2 separate regions of the Homo sapiens genome follow, and region 2 is linked to region 1. Evidence: promoter capture Hi-C in human tissues and cell types (Jung and others, 2019). All regions are on one chromosome and are shown on one strand. The core of a region is centred on a gene start or on the middle of the fragment in contact, and the rest is flanking DNA. Distances in the headings are between cores, read along the strand shown. Region 1 holds the start of TCP10L (t-complex 10 like). Region 2 overlaps EVA1C (eva-1 homolog C).

What was found. The method cuts DNA at HindIII sites, captures the fragments that hold promoters and counts their contacts. A contact is called where the count stands out against the background at its distance.
Region 2: a fragment that was not itself captured here is called in contact with the fragment with the promoter of TCP10L in region 1 in 2 of the 25 tissues and cell types used here (dorsolateral prefrontal cortex and stomach).

What each region holds. Positions count from the first base shown.
Region 1 is chr21:32,583,841-32,587,090 of GRCh38, forward strand. It overlaps TCP10L (t-complex 10 like), which reads right to left and starts at 1,683. Exons shown (of 5, transcript NM_144659.7): 1 at 1,581-1,683; 2 at 321-465. The coding sequence starts at 464. All of the region lies in intron 5 of CFAP298-TCP10L (CFAP298-TCP10L readthrough), which reads right to left. RefSeq lists an enhancer at 1-440 and a silencer at 1,522-1,721. The HindIII fragment of the contact is 17,408 bases long and covers 1-3,250 here.
Region 2 is chr21:32,505,719-32,508,968 of GRCh38, forward strand. The region is part of intron 7 of EVA1C (eva-1 homolog C); the gene reads left to right. Among named protein-coding and RNA genes, the nearest start is that of TCP10L, 78 kb to the right of the region's middle. The HindIII fragment of the contact is 3,428 bases long and covers 1-3,250 here.

The DNA.
Region 1 (3,250 bases), core at 433-2,932:
GGATGATGTGAGGCATGTCAACTTTCTGATTTTCTTTAATGAAGTTTTTAAAGTCTGGTGCCTTCTCCTGGATTAGAGGAGAAAAGCTGGAATGTTAATATTTTCTTTAACTCCCTGCCCTGCCTCCCATCCACCAAGAGATACGGTTGCAGAGGGGGAAAGAGCCACATGCCCCTTGGAGAGGAAGTACAGAATCAGTGTCCCGGGGTGGTGCATTCCTACAGGGGTCCAGCAAGGGAAAGTCCAATGACGGGCCTCAGGGACAGGAATCAGGGTCCCGCCTGGTGGGACTAACTCTGTCCCCACAGAGCTCAACTCACTGGCATCTCCCCAGTGTTGCAGTCCTCCGTGAGAACCTCGGCTGCCACAGCTGTCTTCTCCATGACAGCCCCAGCTCCTGGGCACGGGTCCTCTGGGTGGGTGCCCTCTTTGGGGTCCCTGGCCTCGAGTTGACCTGCCAGCATCCTGGTTGGGAAGGGAAGGGCTATGGGGACACTTGAATGCAGCCCTCCTACCCCGTCAGTGTGGGCTGAAGGCCCCAGCCCCAAACTAAGGGTGAGCAGGACCCGCAGCCGCTCCTTCTCCCCCTGGGTCATGTGCACATTCCCAGGCCCGAAGCTGACCAGGTGAAAGGACACCACAGACAGAGGGACTGAGCTGTCCACACCTGGCTCTCCACCATCCTCCGTGGAAAATGCTTTAGATCCTAGAAGATCAGCCTGACACCTAACACACTCCAGTCATCCAAAGAGGGGTGTGAGTGGGGTGTGAGCCGGTGTGAGTGGGATGTGAGTGGGTTGTGAGCAGGATATGAGCGGAATGTGAATGGATGTGAGCGGATGTGAGCACGATGGTCTTGGGGTATGAGCAGGTGTGAGTGGAATGGTCTCAGGGTGTGAGCAGGTGTGAGTGGAGGGTCGCATGAGACACCGAGGGAATTCTCAGCCCTTTAATCAGCACCCACCTGGAGGGGCACAGGCAGACCCTCCACCGTGTTGAGTATGTGTCTTGAACCATCAGGGTGACATTTGTGAATTCATGGTGAAGATGTGGAAAGGAAACACCTTTTTATAGGTACAGCATTTATGCCAGTTCTAGGAAGTTCACAGCAATTAGAGAACAAAAACGAAAGAGAAAAACGCAAAGCTTTCCTGCAAGCCTGCAGGGTCGTCTCTGAAAGCTGCCTCCACCCCTGCCTTGCCCTGTCCGTTTTAGGAAGCCAGTGGCCCCCAACGAAACCCCGACTGTTTAATTCATAAACTTCTAACTGTGTGAGAAGGAACAGTTTAACCACAGTGATCGGAGAAATGCTATTTAAAAGAGAGTCTCCTGATGGAAGCGAATCGAAGGTCTAGAGCAAGACCTACCAGTAACCAGATCACTGCCATTCCTTCCCCGCGGAGACTGGGAATGTTTCTGCGGAAGTGGGCTGGGGTCACGGTCCTCACAGCCCTGAGAAAGCTCCTTCTTTCCTGCTCCTCTGAGGGGACACCCCAGTGTCCTCGGCCCCAAACTCATGACCCCCTCAGTCCAGGGAAGACCCTTTCCTTCAGCCCCACCACCAGACCTCGTCACCTCACCTGGTCCCCAACAGTCACTACTGCCAGGATCAGATCATCTGGGCCATGTCCCCACAGTTGTCCCCAAGCCCTCCTGCCTCATATCCAGAGACCAGAGAGCAGCGGACAGTTCCAACGGACTTTCTGTCTTAAAGGGACATGAACGTCTCACTCAGCGTCACCACTGTACCAGCTCAGATAATAATTAAACATCCCCAAACCTGCAATTCTTAATATAGAAGCTCATCGTCAGTGGAGTCCATCCATCCACAAAGGACATTGGAGAGAGTCAAACTACTCCTCCAAATTGACAAAAACCATGTGTTTTATATCCAGTCTTCAATACGCAACGTGTAGTAAGAGCTCATTTCTCTGAGCATACATTCTTGGAGAAATACAAACTTTCTTCGGATATCAAATTATTTACTAGAAAAAACATTTTTATGAAGGGAAAATAATATATGTGAGTTTAAATAGGAGACAGGATTCAAAGTTTCATCATTTCACTAAATGCATCTCCATCTGAATTGTCCGTGTGATTTTTGTGATAGAGAAGAGAATGAGGAGCAAGCAAGAGTCGATATTCCTGTTAAACCCTGGCTGTCCTTCTCATCCATGGTGCTGCGTGTGGACAACATACACCTGGGGCTCACCTGAGCCTGCTTGGGACGTGTGTCACTTGGATAGTTCTGCAAGCGATTCGCATGCAATAGGCAGTAAATGCCGACGTCATGAATGAATGAAGAGAATACTACAAAGAGGAAACAGAAGGCACTTTTGTCCCCATGTGTCATTCTAACTGTGAGAGTGTGTGTGTGTGTCCTGAGGTGTGCGAGTGTGTGTGTGTGTGTCCTGAGGTGCGTGAGAGGTTGTATGTTTGTCCTGAAGTGTGTGAGAGTTTATATAGGTTTCTGAGGTATGTGAGGGGTTGTGTGTGTCCCTGAGGTGTATGAGGTGTGTGTGGGTCCTGAGGTGTGTGAGTGGTTGTGTGTGGGTCCCTGAGGTGTGTGAGAGGTTGTGTGTGGGTCCTAAGGTGTGTGAGTGGTTGTGTGTGGGTCCTAAGGTGTGTGAGAGGTTGTGTGTGGGTCCTAAGGTGTGTGAGTGGTTGTGTGTGGGTCCTAAGGTGTGTGAGAGGTTGTGTGAGTCCTGAGGTGTGTGAGAGGATTGTGTGTGAGTCCTGAGGTGTGTGAGGGGTTATGTATGGGCCCCTGAGGTGTGTGAGGGGTTTTATGTGTGTCCTGAGAAGTGTGATGAATTGTGTGGGTCCTGAGGTGTGTGAGGGTTTGTGTATGAGACCCTGAGGTGTGTCAACATTGTGTGTGAGACCCTGAGGTGTGTGAGGGGTTGTGTGTGGATTCCTGAGGTGTGTGAGGGCTTGTGTGTATGAGCCTGAGGTGTGTGGGTTCCTTATATGGGTTCCTGAGGTGTGTGAGGGGTTGTGTGTGTGTCCTGAGGTGTGTGAGGGGTTGTGCTTGGGTCCTGGGGTGTGTGAGTGGGTGTTTGTCCTGAGGTGTGTGAGAGGTTGTGTGTGTGTCCTGAGGTGTGTGAGAGTTTGCGTAGGTTCCTGAGGTATGTGAGGGGTTGTGTGTGTCCTGAGGTGTGTGAGAGGTTGTGTGAGTCCCTGGGGTGTGTGAGAGTTTGTGTAGGTTTCTGAGGTGTGTGAGAGTTTGTGTAGCTTCCTGAGGTGTGTG
Region 2 (3,250 bases), core at 372-2,871, 78 kb before region 1:
AGCCTTCTTGCTTGTCCTCACATGGCAGAGAGGGGGAGAGACAGAGACAGAGACATCTCTTCTTTTTATAAAACCACCAATTCTATCAGATTAGGATTCCCCCCTTATGGCCTCCTTTAACCTTAATTAGCTCCTAATGAGTGAACTGGGGGCAACACAATTCAGTCCATAGCAACAACCCTGAGAGATGGGACTCTGATCCCCTGTTCTGCACTTGAAGCCGGTGGTCAGAGGAGTTGAGCCATTTGCCTGAGGACACCATGGACAGCGGCAGGGCCAGGATTCAGGCTCAGCTAATACAAGGCTTGCACTCCAGCTACTCTGAATTTTGAGGGATGCAACCACCTCCCCACTCTGATCCTGAGTTGTCTAAATTAGCTTTCCTCCATCTCTTTCTATCCTTTTATGTGATTGTCATTCCCAGAAACCACAGGATAGAGATATTCGTTTAGTGACTATCTCTCCTGCTAGTGGCTCAGCTCCACAGGGTCAGGTGCCTTGTCATCTTATTTTGTGTGGTATCCCTGTATCTAGGATGCGGTGCTGGTACAGAACAGGTGCACAGTCAGTAGTTAAGGAACAACTGAATGATGACTGCTGATATGGGCTTATGAGCTTTTTCCTGTGCTTTATTGTCATCCAATATTTGCTATTTATAAGATGTCCATTTTTTTAAAATGTAAGGACTTGATGAGCTGTTATTTGATTTTATTGAGGGGTGTTTGGTGACATTTATCTTAGCAAACCATGACCACGCCTCCATATAATGTCCAAGAGAAAGAGTCTCTAAATGCACTGTGTTGGATGTTAGCTAAATGAAATCACCACAAGAAGCTCGTGACTCAAATCACAGAGGCTCACAAAGCCCTAGTAGAACAGGTGCCTCTGGGCTTGCCTGTGGGTTTTCTTGGTGTGTCTATGTCGCTGTCTGGGTGGCCACTCTAGAGGTGGGAAGCATGCAGTGCATGCTCAGGGGTCTGCAGGCCAGTGTGCCACAGAGGTGCATGTGGACATCAGGCTGGGTCATTTCGACCCAAACAGGCAGTGGCCACCAGCCAATGTCACACAGTGCTGAGCTCCATCCTCACTGCTGCTGGAGAGAGGTGCCCAGACAACTCTCAGTCGCATCCCCGGCCCCACTGTGGGGATGTGACCCACGGGATGAGCTGGGGTCTCTAGGCACCCCCAAAGCAGGAGCAGCTGGGAGCCAAGAGTGTGAGCAGGGCAGTTTCCAGCCCAAACCACCCAAATAGGCGGCAAATGGAGTGAATCCAAAAGTACATTTCCCAGGTCAGGCTGCAAGTAGCTTTGACACAGTAGTGCAGTCCAGTGTACATGGGGACAAGGAGAAGAGAAACCAAAATCGAGAGGTTTGTCCCCTGATATTAAAGCACAGAGGTTGGCAGAAGGGACAGGAGGATGTCCAAGGGTCCCTGGTGAAGCATCTCCTGGGGTCATCTGAATGATCTGTGAGATGGTTTCCCCAACATTGAAAAAGCTTCTTAGGTATGTTTGAATTTACTGTCATTTCAATAATACAGACTTACTCCCCGAATTCATTCTAGAATCAAGATCATGACTCTAAGGAAGCTCATAGAAAAACATTGGAAATTAGAGAAATGGAAAAGGAGTGGTGTGTGTGTGTGCATGTGTGTGTGCATGTGTGCATGTGCGTCTGTGAGCATGTGCATGTGTGTGTATGTGTGCACGTGTGTGTGCATAGGTGTCTATGCGTGTGCGTGTGTGCATGTGTGCATGTGTGTATGCGTCTGTGTGCGTGTGTCTGTATCTGTGTGCATGTGTCTCTGTGTGTGCATGTGTGCGTCTGTATGTATGCGTGTTTTTGTGTGTGCATGTGTATATGTGTGTGCATGTGTGTTTCTATGTGTACATGTGTGTACATGCGTATCTGTGTGTGCATGGGTTTGCAGGTGTGCCTGTGTGTGCATGCATGTGTATCTGTGTGCATGTGTGCATGCGTATGTGCACGTGTGTGTGCATGTGTGTGCATACGTGTATCTGCATGTGCATATGTGTTTGCGTGTGTGTGCATGTATGTGTATCTCTGTGCATATGTGTATCTCTGTGTGCATGTATGTATGTGTGTTGCATGTGTGTGCATGTGTCTGTATGCTTGTGCGTGTGTGCCGTCATGTGTGTGCATGTGTATCTGTGCATGTGTGTATCTGTGTGTGTGCGTGTGTGCCTGTATGTGTATCTGTATGTGTGTTTGTGTGTGTGTGTATCTGTATGTGTGCCTGCATGTGTGTGTGTGGGTGCGTGTGTGTACGCATGCATGTGTGTGCATGCACATGTGCGTGTGTATCTGTGTGTGTAAGTGTGTGTTGGAAGTTCTTAGCAAAGCAGTGTAATAGCTGGCTCAGCATGAGCCATTGTCCCCTGGCAGATTGTGCCCAAGGGGACTTACGTATTTAGACAGTCTTGCATGAGAATATGACCTCTCCTATTCCACATAATTACTGTTTCATTGACATCTGGCTTTGGGTGTTTACCTCATATGTGCCTGCAGGCATGCCTTTTGTGGCCTAATATTTCCGTCACTGCCCCTGCCCCCTTGGGACAGTGACAGATATGTCATCAGCCTCTGGCAGGCCCTGCTGTGGGCTTCTGGGGCGCAGGGGTAAGGAAGCTGGGCAGAAGGGACAGGCTTGCAGCCTGGGATGTCCTGTTTTGGGAGGCATAATTGTTTCATAAGGGAGGAACTCTAGGGCCACAGATAAGCTTATACTGAAAGAGAAACACAAAAACACGCTCCAGAGTCAGAGCTATGTGATTCCCCCACCAGGGAGAATCACTGGAAATCAGCACCACCTTGTCACGGAGATATGGATTCGGATGTGTTCCCACGGTCTCCAATCTCTAGTTCCATGATAGAAGGTTTCTGTCACACCCCTAAGTGCTGTCAGACCAGCACTTGGTATGCTTTGTGCTTTCTTCTGGACAACTCTCGGGCCCTGACTGCTGCCTCGATCCTCTCAACAGCAATAGGGCCCCAACAGGGGGAACGCTCGCCATGGCCTCTGGGTGTCTTATCTGGACACGAATGAGCTGGAGCGTGCATTTGCCCCAAGTCAGGATCTAAGGGTGGAAAGGAGCCTTAAAGGCCATAGGTCCCCCTTCAGAGGCTCCCATGGGCATGCAACAGCTGATCAAATTAAAGTCATTCACTCCAGCTGGGGATGAACCAAGGCTAAATTTAGAACAATGCCAGCAGAAACACAGTGTGAAG